Linked DNA regions of Homo sapiens: region 1 is linked to region 2. The links are contacts of gene promoters, found by promoter capture Hi-C in human tissues and cell types (Jung and others, 2019). All regions are on one chromosome and are shown on one strand. The core of a region is centred on a gene start or on the middle of the fragment in contact, and the rest is flanking DNA. Distances in the headings are between cores, read along the strand shown.

Region 1 (7,324 bases), core at 4,006-6,505, 82 kb before region 2:
CCAATATGGCAAAACCCCATCTCTACTAAAGATACAAAAATTAGCCAGGTATGGTGGTGCCTACCTGTAATCCCAGCTACTCAGGAGGCTGAGGCAGGAGAATCACTTGAACCCAGAAGGTGGAGGTTGCAGTGAGCCGAGATCACGCCATTGCACTCCAGCCTGAAAAACAGAGTAAGACTCTGTCTCAAAAAAAAAAAAGAAAAGAAAAGCATGTCAACAAAACTCTTTAAGGCTATCATTTTGCCCTATGGCTTCAGATAAAGACTCCAGTGAGAAAGTCAAAACACAATTGAGGCTTCTTCTAAAGTCTTTCCTGAGTCTGCTGCTCTGCTCCCCTTTCCAGAGGTGAAATTGTTCTGCAACTTCCTGCCCGTGGTGTTTACGATCATGGCACCTCTCCCCACTGCTCTGTGCCTGTGAACGTGGCCTGAGCACCATCTCTTCATAATTAGGAATCTGCCTGTTCCTCTAACATTCTGTGCTGAGTGTGTGCAGGCTGACAGATGTAAGTCCCATTCATTCATTCATTCATTCATTCATTCAACTATAGTGTCATCTTCCACATATTCTATAACTTATCCTGTGTTTTAAATTAATCATTCATCCCCAAATTCAACTGGTTTCCCATTTTTCACGGTTGCAATGTTGAAATACACATTTTTTTTTCGAGTTTCCTTGTCCATGTATGAAAATGTCTCCAAGGACATATATCTCTGCAAGTTTCAACTCCAGTTACTTTCTGAAACTCTCCTCCAATACCACCATGCAAATGAACAGATCCCCCAAATTCGAACGGCCTGACCAACAGGTAGTATCATCCCATTTTTTTCTTCTAACGTATAAGAAGTGACAACCTACATGCATTACTGTGATTTTGATTTGTATTTCCCTGATTACAGGTATGATTAATAATCAATTGTATGGTTTAATGGTCCTTTTATTTCCCTTTTCTGTCAAATAATAATATCCTTTGTCTTTTTAAAAAAGATATAAGTATGGCCAGGCGTGGCGGCTCATGCCTGTAATTCTTTGGGAGGTCAAGGCAGGTGGATCACCTGAGATCAGGAGTTCAAGACCTGCCTGGCCAACATGGTGAAACCCCATCTCTACTAAAAGTACAAAACTTAGCTGGGCATGGTGGCACACCTTTGTAATCCCAGCTGCTCAGGAGGCTGAGGCAAGAGGTTCACTTGAACTGGAGAGGCGGAAGTTGCAGTGAGCTGAGATTGCACCACTGCACTCCAGCCTGGGCAACAGAGTGAGACTCCATCTCAAAATAAAATAAAATAAATAATAGGCCAGGCGCAGTGGCGCATGCCTGTAATCCCAGTACTTCGGGAGGCCGAGGAGGGCGGATCACGAGGTCAGGAGATCGAGACCATCCTGGCTAACACGGTGAAACCCCGTCTCTACTAAAAAAATACACAAAATTAGCCGGGCATGGTGGCTGGCACCTGTAGTCTCAGGTACTCGGGAGGCTGAGGCAGGAGAATGGCGTGAACCCAGGAGGTATAGAGCTTGCAGCGAGCTGAGATCGTGCCACTGCACTCCAGCCTGGGCAACTGAGCACGAGACTCCGTTTCAAAAAAAAAAAATTTTTTCACAATTTAAAAAGTACAGGCCCGTCATTTTGCAGACTGTCCCTCATTTGGGGTTCATATAATGTTATCTCACTAATATATTCAGGCCTAGAGTTTATGTTTAAAATATGGCCACATAGAAAGGGAAGAGGGAGAAAAGTCAAGTGACCTCTGGTGACCAAGGTCAACATCATTAGTGCCAGGTCATGTTGCTAATAAGTCCCCTTGATATGGTGTGATGATCATGGTATTTTACCTCTGTGACCTTCCTCTCCAAAACCCATGAACTCATTTGTTGGATGAGAAAACCTGCAATAAATCCCAAAGGAGGAACATTGTACAAAATGCCTCACCAGTGTTCTTCAAAACCATCAAGGTCATCAAAAATGAGGAAAGTCGGCCAGGCGCAGTGGTTCGCACCTGTAATCCCAGTACTTTGGGAGGCCAAAGTGGGCGGATCACCTGAGGTCAGGAGTTCGAGACCAGCCTGGCCAATATGGTGAAACCCCGTTTCTACTAAAAATGCAAAAATTAGCCGGGTGTAGTGGCGCGTGCCTGTAATCCCAGCTACTCGTGAGGCTGAGGCAGGAGAATCACTTGAACTGGGGAGGCAGAGGCTGCAGTGAGCCAAGATTGTGCCACTGCACTCCAGCCTGGGCAGCAGAGCAAGACTCCATCTCAAAAAAAAAAAAAATGAGGAAAGTCTGAGCAACAACTGTCACAGCCAAGAGGAGCCCAAGGAGACAGGATGAGTGTATGTCATGTACTATACAGGATGGGATTTTGGGGCAAAAAAAGGGCATGAGACAGTGAGCCAGGATCATGCCACTGCACTTCAGCCTGGGCAACAAAGAGAGAACTCTGTCAAAAAAAAAAAAAAAAAACACGAGCATGAGATAAAAACTAAGGAAATCCAAATTAAGTATGGACTATGGGAACTCTCTGTACTCTCTTTGCAATTTTTCTGTAAGTCTAAAAGTGCCCTAAAAAATGAGGCGTATTAAAAATATTTTTTTCCTGTTTGGGAAGAGTTTAGAAACTGGAAATACTAGATTCAGGAGAAGGGCAGACTTGCTTGATAAGGGACCGATGTTTGTGCAGTAATTTGGAGTGTGGTTTGTTTTTGAATCTTTAATTAAATCCTGGGATTGGCCGGGCGCAGTAGCTCACACCTGTAATCCCAGCACTTTTGGAGGCCGAGGCGGGTGGATCACGAGGTCAGGAGTTTGAGACCAGCCTGGCCAACATGGTGAAACCCCATGTCTACTAAAAGTACAAAAATTAGCCAGGCGTGGTGGTGGGCGCCTGTAATCCCAGCTACTCAGGAGGCTGAGGCAAGAGAATCGCTTGGACCCAGCAGGCGGAGGTTGCAGTGAGCCCGAGATCATGCCATTGCACTCTAACCTGGGTGACAAGAGCAAGAGTCCATCTCAAAACAATAAATAAATAAATAAAATTAAAAAGTAAAACCTGGGATTATATATCGCTGATAGATATTCACGCTTGAACCACAGTTACTATAAAATGCAAAAATTCTTAATACTGTTATTCTTTGCACTTTTTCTTAATCATTTTATATATATGCATATATATATGCGCATATATATATGCATATATATATACATATATATCTTGTTTAGGTTGTTTTGTACAGATGTGGGCCACCATTGCAACAAAATAAATTCTTTTTGCTCTAAAATATTTATAAAGAAAATACTTAAATGTGATGTACAGGGTGGTAATAAGGGAAAAATCAAGTATTATAAACAAGAATGAAGGCTTTTTTTCTTTCCTTTTTTTTTTTTTTTTTTTTGAGACGGAGTCTCGCTCTGTCGCCCAGGCTGGAGTGCAGTGGCGAGATCTCGGCTCACTGCAAGCTCCGCCTCCCGGGTTCATGCCATTCTCCTGCCTCAGCCTCCTGAGTAGCTGGGACTACAGGCACCCGCCACCACGCCCGGCTAATTTTTTGTATTTTTAGTAGAGACGGGGTTTCACCGTGTTAGCCAGGATGGTCTCGATCTCCTGACCTCGTGATCCGCCCGCCTCGGCCTCCCAAAGTGCTGGGATTACAGGCGTGAGCCACCACACCGTGCCCAGACCAAGAATGAAGGTTTTTGTAAAGATTTCTGTTCAGTGTTTTGCAAGGTAAAATTCTAGGCACGTTTTCCCTGAAGTTATGTGTATGTGAGTATTCTCATTCTTCCCAACTTGCCTTTGAAGAGTGAAAAAACATTATTATCAAGTAGACTTCTATTCAGCTTTTGCTCCTGCCCTGCTGTTTATCCCTTAAGAATGAGTTTCTTGGACTTTCCCAATATGTGATTTTTTTTTCCCATTTAGAATGGTGATTTTAAATGTGTGAGTGCATGCATTATCTTATCTCAGATATTTGCACCCCCAATCCACCCCCATCTCCCTAAAGCTAGAACACTGCCAACTGATCTGTTGTATAGGTCCTTTAGAAACACATAATTAGGCTGGGCGTGGCGGATCACAAGGTCAGGAGATTGAAACCATCCTGGCTAACACGGTGAAACCCCGTCTCTACTAAAAATACAAAAAATTAGCTGGGCGTGGTGGCGGGCACCTGTAGTCCCAGCTACTCTGGAGGCTGAGGCAGGAGAATGGCATGAACCCAGTAGGCAGAGCTTGCAGCAAGCCGAGATCGCGCCACTACACTCCAGCCTGGACGACAGAGTGAGACTCCATCTCAAAAAAAAAAAAAAAACAAACAAACACATAATTAACACTTAAGGTTGGGTGCTGCCAATTCTTTGTGAAAATCCAAATATTATTAAGGAAACAGGGAGATGCCACTACCTCTTGATTTTCCATCTAAAAACATACATGTTTATGCAAACAAATCTTTCCATATTCATAGTGACTTTTCAAGTATTTGAGTCTAAAGATTTTCATCTCACATTTTTATACCGTTTAAATTGTTCACAATTATTACATACACGTCAGCCATCAACTAAAGTTGTACTTTAAAAATTTACTACAATATATACACTGCTAATATTTGTACTTACTCTTTTTTTCTCTAGAGTGGAGGTATAATTGTGTGATACTTCAGAAATACAGATAAATGATTCAAAAAGTCTCAGGGAGAATAATGTTTCTTTGATCGTGAATAACTGATTAGTAATTCTTGCCTATATTTTCCTGAGAGCATATGACAAATGTTTCTAAGGTAACAAGATGAGAACAGATAAAGACTGTGTGGTCTTTTGGATTTGGAGAGACATATTTTAATTTTTAAATGCAGTTACAAATTATAATGTATTCATATTTGTACTTTCTGTTAAAATGCACGATTGCAGGATTATTTAGATTTTGTGTTTATGCTTGATGAAAAGCTTTGTTCTTGTTTTTAAGTTTGCACTCAAACCTTAAGAAATAAATTCACCCATATTATCAAAAAAAATATTTGTCCTCGTGTTTGTTATTCGATCTTGCAGTTCACTCTCAGGAACGCAAGCTCAGATGACCCCTAAAATGGTCTCTAGATAAGTTCATGATTGCTCAACATCTTCAATCTTTTGAGTATGGGTCACATTATACCTCTCTTTATCAGCAAGTAAACTTTACAACAAACATGTGACATGCTGGGACAAGGTTAAAGATCGTTTTATCCTTGCTGTAAAAGCTGATCTGCCTGTAGCTGCCACAGCCTCCAGCGGTGGCTACAGTTGAAACCCTCACACCACGCAGGAAGAGGTCATCATCATGTCGGACGATTTCTTATGGTTTGAAGGCATAGCTTTCCCTACTATGGGTTTCAGATCCGAAACCTTAAGAAAAGTACGTGATGAGTTCGTGATAAGGGATGAAGATGTAATAATATTGACTTACCCCAAATCAGGTAAGGAGGCAGAATCGTGAACTGAGAAAGGCTGTGGTTGTGTTCCTGTCCATTCAGTGCATGATTGGAGTTCTTCCTTTATGTCAGACAGTGTACAATGCTTTAAGGGGAAGAGAGGAATGCCTAATACCATTGACAATCAGAGAAAAGGATTTAGTCAGGAAATTACACAGTAGGATGAGTGTTCAGAGGGGTAATCTAAGGTATTAGGAGAATCCACAGGAGTGAATCCCAAGGCAAATTCAGGTGTTTGTTTGGTGGCAGTGGGAGGGAGGATGGCTGAGGATGACCAATGATGTCCTGAAAGAAGAAATAGCATTTAAATGGAAATGCAAAGAATGAGTATGAAATTACTTGGGGGGAGGGCTATTTTCAGATAGGAGAATCATCAGGGCAATGGCCAGGAACCACAAAAGAGCCAGGCAATCTCAAGGGGCTGAAAGATGAGGATCATATGTCTCTGGGAGTGGGGCTGTGGGTGGAGGGCGGTAAGAGCACTGCGGATGCGGTGAGGATTGAGGCTGAAGACATTGGAAGTGGCATGGCCCTGAGAGGCCAAGAGCAATGGGAACATAATAAGAGGGATTTCAGCAAATAGCCAAAAGATGGAAGCAACCCAGATATCCACTGACAGGTGAGTGAATAAACAAAATGTGGTATATAGCTATAATGGAATGTTATTCATCCTTGAGAAGGAAGAAAATTCTGATGCATGATACAACAGAGATAAACATCAAGGACATTATGCTAAATGAAATAAGCCAGTCACAAAAATACAAATAGTGTGTGATTCCACTTACATAAGGTACCTGGAGTCATCAAGTCCATAGAAACAGAAAGTACACTGGCGGCTGCCAGGGGCTGAAGAGAAGGGTAAATGGGGAGTCGGTGCTGGCTCTGCATAGAGTTTCGGTTTTGCAACACAAAAATCCTCTGGAGATTGGTTGAGCAGCACTGGGAATATACTTAACACTTAACACTACGAAACCGTAGGCTTAAAAGTGGTTGACAGGCTGGGCATGGTGGCTCATACCTGTAATCCCAGCACTTTGGGAGGTCAAGGCAGGTGGATTGCCTGAGGTCAGGAGTTCGACACCAGCCTGGCCAACATGGCAAAACCCCGTCTCTACTAAAAATAAAAAATTAGCCAGGCGCTGTGGCGCACGTCTGTAGTTCCAGCTACTCGGGAGGCTGACCAAGAGAATCACTTGAACCCAGGAGATGGAGGTGGCAGTGAGCCAAGATCATGCCACTGCACTCCAGCCTGGGTGACAGAGCAAGACTCTGTCTCAAAAAAAAAAAAAAAAAAAAAAAAAAGTGGTTGAGAGCTGGCTGCAGTGGCTCACGCCTACAGTCCCAGTGCTTTGGGAGGGCAAGATAGGCAGATTGCTTGAGGTCAAGCGTTCAAGACCAGCCTGGGCAACATAGCAAGGCCTGATCTCTACAATAAAATTTTTTCAAAAAATTAGCCCAGCGCGATGGCACATGCCTGAGGTCTCAGATACTTGCGAGGCTGAAGCAGGAGGCCGAAGTACAAGGATCACTTGAGCCCGAGTTCAAGGCTGCAGTGGGCTATAATTGCACCACTGCACTCTAGCCTGGGCTACAGAGGGAGACCTCATCGCTAAAAAAAAAAAAAAAAAAAGCCAGGCGCAGTGGCTCACGCCTGTAATCCCAGCACTTGGGGAGGCCGAGGCAGGCAGATCATGAGGTCAGGAGATCGAGACCATCCTGGCTAACATGGTGAAACCCCATCTCTACTAAAAATATATTAAAAAAAAAATTAGCCAGACGTGGTGGTGGGCGCCTGTAGTCCCAGCTACTTGGGAGGCTGAGGCAGGAGAATGGCATGAACCCGGGATGCACAGCTTGCAGT
Region 2 (7,637 bases), core at 3,832-6,331:
GGTAATTACTTTTGCAGGAGTTTTTATCTTTGTTGTTATTTATTGTTCATTCAAATATATTGTGCTCACACCCGTAATCTCAGCACTTTGGGAGGCCAACATGGATGGATCACTTGAGGTCAGGAGTTAGAGGTCAGCCTGGGTAACATGGCAAAACCCCGTCTCTACAAAAAATACAAAAATTAGCCAGATGTGGTGGCACATGCGCCTGTCCTCTCAGCTACTTGGGAGGCTGAGGTGGGAGAATGGCTTGAGCCAAGGAGGGAGAGGTTGCAGTGAGCCGAGATCATGACAGTGCAACGCAGCCTGGGTGATAGAGAGAGACCCTGTCTCCAAAAAAAAAGGAAAGAAAAAGAAAAGAAAAAAGAATATGTATATGTATAATATATATTTTTTGTATGTGCTTATTAAATGTGTACATTCTTCAAAATAAACAATGTGCCTGAGACAGCATTTGATATGGAAAACACAAACTCAATCATTTAGTACATTATTACTCAGCACCTTTGAGCTTTTCCTATTACAGACATGGGGATTTGGGAGGGAAAAAAAAGCCCAACAAAGTCTCTGTGTTCAAGACACATTTATTTCAGCAAACAGCAAGCAGACATCCACCAGGCAAACAAAACAACAAATACATTAAAGATCATCATTTCTTACTAATTGGTTACCACTTCATCCCTTTCTTAAACTTTCATTAGCATTCCATAGTCTGAGGCTGCCACAAATTAATCATCTTCTAATTTGTGGGCGTGAATTAATCCAATTAACTCAGTTGATATTTCAAAGAAATGTTACACTGAACACTGATATCTGCGCTTATTCACAGCGGAGCAAGTATTTTCCCAGGATAAGTCTCTTACAATAAAACATTGAGGCCAGGCACGGTGGCTCACACCTGTAATCCCAGCATTTTGGGAGGCCAAGGTGCGCGGATCACTTGAGGTCAGGAGTTCAAGACCAGCCTGGCCAACATGGTGAAACCCCATCTCTACTAAAAATAAAATAAAAATTAAATAAAAATTTAAAAATTAGCCAGATGTGGTGGCAGGCGCCTGTAGTCCCAGCTACTCGGAAGGCAGGAGAATCACTTGAACCCAGGAGGCAGAGGTTGCAGTGAGCCGATATCTGCATTAAAGTGCAGAGCCACTGCACTTTAGTCTGGGTGACAGATCGAGACTCGGTCTCAATAAATAAATAAATAAAATAAGAAAATTGGCCAGGCATGGTGGCTCACACCTGTAATCCCAGAACTTTGGGAGGCTGAGGCGGGTGGATCACCTGAGGTCAGGAGTTCAAGACCAGCCTGGACAACACAGTGAAACCCCGTCTCTACTAAAAATACAAAAATTAGCCAGACATCATGGTGGGTGCCTGTAATCCCAGCTACTCAGGAGGCTGAGGCAGGAGAATTGCTTGAACCTGGGAGGCGGAGGTTGCAGTGAGCTGAGATCGCGCCATTGCACTCCAGCCTGGGCAAGAAGAGTGAAATTCCATCTCAAAACAAATAAAGAAAATAAAATAAAATAAGAAAATTACCCGGACATGGTGGTACTTGCCTGTAGTCCCACCTACTCAGGAGGCTGAGGTTGCAGGATCGCTTAAACCCCAGAGTTCGAGGTTGCAGTGAGTTTCGATTGACTCCACTGCACTCCAATCTGGGCAACAGAGCAAGACCCTGTCTCAAAAAAAATCATTGAGTCAAAGGGTACTATACACATTTCATCCTTTAATAGATGTCACAGAGTCAATTTCAAAAAAAAACCTCCAAAAATATTTTACCAACCTACACTTCATCAATGGCAAGAGAAAACCACATTCTCTGGGTCTACACTTGATCCATCTCTTTGATCTTGGCCAATCCACAGGGCAATATGCTGAGTTTTGCATTAATTTATATTTTTTATTGATATGTCATCCACGTAATATAAAAGTACCCACTTAAAGTATACAATTCAGGGCTGGGTGCCATGGTTCATGCCTGTAATCCCAGCACTTTGAGAAGCTAAGGAGAGCGAATTACTTGAGGCCAGGAGTTCGAGACTAGCCTGGCTAACATGGTGAAACCCCATCTCTACTAAAAATAGAAAAAATTTTTTACTGGGTGTGGTAACACACACCTGTAATCCCAGCTACTCAGGAGGCTGAGGCATGAGAATCACTTGAACCCAGGAGGCAGAGCTGAGATCAATCCACTGCACTGCAGCCTGGGCAACAGAGACTCTGTCTCAAAACAAATACATAAATAAATTTAATTAAATAAAGTATACAATTCAGGCCGGGCACGCTGGTTCACGCCTGTAATATCAGTACTTTGGGAGGCAAGGTGGGCTGGTTGTTTAAACTCAGGAGTTCGAGACGAGACTGGGCAACACGGCAAAACAAAAAGAAAAGAATAATCATAAAGTACAAAATGAAATGGTTTTGGCCGGGCGCGGTGTTTCACACCTGTAATCCCAGCACTTTGGGAGGCCGAGATGGGTGGATCACTTGAGGTCAGGCATTCGAGGCCAGCCTGGCCAACATGGTGAAACCCATTCTCTACTAAAAATACAAAAAGTTAGCTGGGCGTGGTGGTGCATGCCTGTAATCCCAGCTACTTGGGCGACTGAGGCAGGAGTATCACTTGAACCCGGGAGATGGAGGTTGCAGCAAGCCGAGATCACACCACTACTGCACTCCAGCCTGGGTGACAGGGCAAGACGCCATCTCAAAAAAAAAAAATTAAATCGTCTTTAGTCTGTTTGCAGAGTTGTGCCTCCTTCACTACAGTCAATTTTAGAACATTTTTCACCGTCCCCAATAGCTATCTCCATAGCTATTCCCAGTTGGTCCCAATTTTCCCTTCTCCCCAACCCGTAGCAACCACTAATCTGCTTTCTGTCTCTATGGATTTGCCTATTCTGGACACTTTGTATAAATAGAATCGTATATGTGCTTTTGAGTCTGGCGTCTTTCACTCGGCATCATGTTGGCAAGGTTCATCCATGTTGTAGCACGTATCAGAGCTTTATTCCTTTTCATGGTTGAGTAATATCCCATTGTGTAAATATATGACATTTTGGGTTTCTATTTTTTGTGGGTTTTTTTGGGGGATGTTGTTTTGTTTTTTGAGGCAGAGTCTCCCTCTGTCACCCAGGCTGGAGTTCAGTGGCACCATCTCAGCTCCCTGCAACCTCTGCCTCCCGGGTTCAAGTGATTCTCCTACCTCAGCCTAACAAGTAGCTGGGATTACAGGCTCCCGCCACCATGCTTGGCTAATTTTTTGTATTTTTAGTAGAGACGGATTTTCACCATGTCGACCAAGCTGGCCTCAAACTCCTGACCTCAAGTGATTCGTCCACCTCAGCCTCCCAAAGTGCTGGGATTACAGGCGTGAGCCACCGTGCCCAGCCACTTTTATTTATTTTGAGATGGAGTCTCACTCTGTTGCCCAGGCTGGAGTACAGTGGCACAATCTCCACTCCCTGTAGCCTCCGCCTCCCGGGTTCAACCAATTCCCCCGCCTCAGCCTCCCAAGTAGCTGAAATTCAGGTGCTGGCCACCACGCCCAGCTAATTTTTGTATTTTTAGTAGACAGGGTTTCGCCATGTTGGCCAGGCTGGTCTTAAACTCCTGACCTCAGGTGATCTGCCTGCCTCAGCCTCCCAAAGTGCTGGGATTACAGGCGTGAGCCACCGCGCCTGGCCATGCAGCATTTTATTTATCCATGCATCAGTGGATCGATGTTTTCAGCATTTTCTCCTTTTGGGCGATAGTGAATCATGCTGCCGTGAACTTGCTTATATTTAAATGTCTATTTTCACAAAATAGTACCAGTGAGCTTGTTCATCTGTTTATGTCTTTATTGACCAAATAAATAGCCATGGTGCAAAATCTCTGTGGTCACTACTGTGTTCCCAGCATGTCCTGTAGATGAAGCCGGACAATGTGTGCGATGAGGAATCATTGCTGGGGATGCTGCTTTCTACAGCAGAACTCTAAGTAGCAGGTGAAAACAATGAGCGAGGCCCGTGGTAACAATGTCTACGTTTTATTGAATTTTGAAATTGATTGCATGAGTCATTTCTAGTTCCCTGCACCATGAGCCTTGTCAATCTCTCTAATCCCTGAACCCACGTGGGTCCTGCCATGGGGAAATGAGGACAGCCAGGTGTCTGACAGAGAAGACGCATCTCTGAGGGATCCGATCTCTGTAGACCAAGGTCATGGGTCCCCTGTATCATCAGCAGTAGGTTCATTCACTCACAAGGGCAGACCAGCAGCGGTCCATGGGCACGTCCATCAGACCTGTGCCCCCTCCTGATACAGGTCTATGCAGCTTGGAGAGGCTGGGCTCATGTGAACCCAGCACACGAGCCCCGTATATAAACTGGAATAAACCAGCACTGAGGTCATTTACTCTCCAGGAGAAACCAACAGAGGTCTATGTGAATGCCTATCAGAACTTCACCCCATAGGCAAATCCACTACAGAAACCAAACCATTATCAGCAGGGCCAATGTGTACTAAGCTCTGCTTACACCTATAGGCACCTAGGGAGCAATTTTTGGAATGGATAGTAGGGGCCAGAGTGGCCTTGAGGTACCAAAGAGGAGGTTGCAAGGTCATCCAGGAAGGAGGGATAGTGGCTGGACAAGGCAGGCAGCCCAGGAGCCAGGAGGAGTGGGTAGACTCACCGGCATTGGTCACTCGGGGCCCCAGCCCTGGGAAGGAACAAGGATGACTCCTGGGGGCTGGCTGGCGGTGCCTCTCCTGAGATGGGGACCCCAACCACAGGTCACGATGTTGACTCCCCCAACCAAACCCGCATGGAATGCCACCTCACCTGGGCTAGGGCCCATGAGGGTGAAACCAAGGCTGTGTTGTCCACTGAGGTTCTCCAGCTCCTAGCACAGCTCAGCAGGCAGTACCTGATCAGTGATGAAGGATTAATCCATCATTCAACTCCTCCAGGGGGCGGGACTGCAGGGCAGGGTGGGAAAGGGAGGGTCCCGGCAGGGTGGGCCAGGGTGGGCACAGCAGAGAAGTGATTTAAGAGCCAAGCCCTTGTCAGTACACACTTGTGTTTGGGAACAGATCAGGACTCAGGATGCAAGACCCTGGTCATCTCCAAGGTGAGCGGGGACAGAGGTGTGAGGGGTCTGGGCTGATCCTGTGGCTGAGGCTGCAGAGTGCAAATCTGGGCAGCCAGAGAAGGGCTGGGCCTGTGCGGGCGGCTTCCTGTCCTGCAGACGGGGGAGAACTTAGTGGTGTCTGGGAAATGAAAAATCATGCAGCTGGGTGTAGCGTCTCACGCCTGTGATCCCAGCTCTTTGGGAAGCCAAGGTGGGAGGATCACTTGAGCCCGGGACTCTGAAACCAGCCGAGCCAACATAGTGGAGACCCGTCTTTAGCAAAAATACAAAAATTACCCAGGGGTCGTGGTGCACACCTGTGGTCCCAGCTACTCGGGAGACTAAGGCGGGGGGTTCCTTGAGCCCAGGAAGTGGAGGCTGACTTGAGCCGTGATCACATCACTGCACTCCAGCCTGGGTGACAGAGCGAGATCCCCTCCAAGAAAAAGAAAGAAGGAAAGAAATTAAACCATGCAGTTGAGTGGAGCAGAGGACTGGGCAGGTGGCGGCTCCCCTGCAAGTGTCAGGGTCCCTATAACCCTTGGATGGGAGGGGACGGGGCAGCTGGGGAGGGTTGAGCAGGCCTGAGGCAGCCCCGTCTGCTCCGAGGTGAGGCGCCTACGCTGCCTGCCTTCCCAGGAGCTGTTATCGCGCCTATTTCCTAGATGTGGACCCTGAGGCCCAGAGAGGTGCAAGGTCTGGTCTGGATACCAGGCTGCTATCCGCGGTGCCGCCCCAGCCCACACTGCCTGGGCTCCTGGCCTGGTGCAGGGGACGGGGTCCCTAGGGGGGCTGGGGGCTGCCTGGGGGTTTCTGTGACCTGTTTCCCTCCCACCCCCAGGCCCTCCCCTGGCCCTGGACCCTCCAAGGAGACAGCGGCAGGAGCGCACGGTCTACACTGAAAGCCAGCAGAAAGTGCTAGAATTTTACTTTCAGAAGGACCAGTACCCGAACTACGACCAGCGACTGAATCTGGCGGAGATGCTCAGCCTCAGGGAGCAACAGCTGCAGGTCTGACCCCCACCCCCACCCTGCCCGCCCCAGTCACCCCAAGGAGCCTCCCCACCGCTGTCACTCACCGGGGCCTGGCCCGCCCGACCACCTCCCGCCCTGCCACGCAAGGGGTCCCGCCAGTGTAGACCAGGGCTGCATCCTGAGTCCTGTTCCAACTCTATGCTAGCCCAAACTCGCCCACATGATCGGCCCAGGCTGTCCCCCACGGGGTCTCCCGGTGCCCGGACCTCAGGCACCCGTGAGAACCCGCGGTCCCTCCCCTCGAACCCTCCCTGGCCCCCCGGGCACCTGGGCGGCAGACCCCGCTCCTCCCATCCCACCCCACCCTCCTCCCCCTACTTTTCCCTCCCTCTTCCCTCCATTCTCCAGGCCTTGGAGCCGGGGCCCTCTTTTGGTGGGGTGGGGGATGGGGGGCTGTTGAGCACAGGGAGAGGCTTCAGGCTGGCCCCGACCCCAAAAGGCTCACTGGGCCGCGCGAGCCCCTCCTTCACACCTTCTCCCTGTCCCCTCTGCCCCCCAGGTGTGGTTCAAGAATCGCCGCGCCAAACTAGCTCGGGAGCGGCGGCTCCAGCAGCAGCCCCAGCGCGTCCCTGGGCAGAGAGGCCGAGGAGCCCGCGCTGCGCCCCTAGTCCCTGCAGCCTCTGCCTCCGCACCTCAGCGGGGCCCCTCGGGAATCCTTCCAGCGGCGGAACCCACGATCTGCAGCCTCCACCAGGCCTGGGGTGGCCCTGGGTGCAGAGCCCAGAAGGGCATCCCAGCTGCCCTGAGTCCAGGCCCTGGCCCGATCCCTGCCCCAATCCCAGGCCCAGCCCAGATCCCAGGCCCACTCCCTGGCTCAATTCCAGGCCCAATTCCAGGCCCAGCTCAGATCCCAAGCCCGATCCCAGCCCCAATCCCAGGCCCAATTTCAGGCCCAGTCCAGATCCCAGGCCCATTCCGTGGCCCAATCCCAGGCCCAATTTCAGGCCCAGCCCCGATCCCAGGCCCAATCTCAGGCCCATTCTCAGGCCCAAACCCAGGCCCGATCCCAGGCCCAAACCCAGGCCCGATCCCAGGCCCAATCTCAGGCCCGATCCCAGGCCCAATCTCAGTCCCGATCCCAGGCCCGATCCCAGGCCCAATCTCAGGCCCAATCTCAGGCCCAAACCCAGGCCCGATCCCAGGCCCAATCCCAGGCCCAATCTCAGGCCCGAACCCAGGCCCGATCCCAGGCCCAATCTCAGGCCCGAACCCAGGCCTGATCCCAGGCCCAATCCCAGGCCCAATCTCAGGCCCAGGCCCAATTATAGGCCCGATTCCCAGCCCAGCCCAGATCCCAGGCCCAGGCAGACTCCAAGGCCCAGGTCCCATCTTAAGTCCTGGCCGGATGCGAAGCCCTGGCTCACTTCCAGGCCTAGCCCCGATTTTAGGCCCAGGCTCAGGCCCAGGCTCAGGCTCAGTCCCAGCTCCAATCCCAGGCCCAGGATCACTCCCAGCCCCAGCCCCCTTATGGCCTCAGAGCCCCGA

What was found. The method cuts DNA at HindIII sites, captures the fragments that hold promoters and counts their contacts. A contact is called where the count stands out against the background at its distance.
Region 1: a contact is called between the fragment with the promoter of SULT2A1 here and the fragment with the promoter of TPRX1 in region 2, in 14 of the 25 tissues and cell types used here (IMR-90 fibroblasts, aorta, heart left ventricle and 11 more).

What each region holds. Positions count from the first base shown.
Region 1 is chr19:47,884,246-47,891,569 of GRCh38, reverse strand. It overlaps SULT2A1 (sulfotransferase family 2A member 1), which reads left to right and starts at 5,255. Exons shown (of 6, transcript NM_003167.4): 1 at 5,255-5,448. The coding sequence starts at 5,313. The HindIII fragment of the contact is 17,642 bases long and covers 993-7,324 here.
Region 2 is chr19:47,801,995-47,809,631 of GRCh38, reverse strand. It overlaps TPRX1 (tetrapeptide repeat homeobox 1), which reads left to right and starts at 5,081. Exons shown (of 3, transcript NM_001397346.1): 1 at 5,081-5,117; 2 at 5,959-6,128; 3 at 6,652-7,637. The coding sequence starts at 5,093. The HindIII fragment of the contact is 58,136 bases long and covers 1-7,637 here.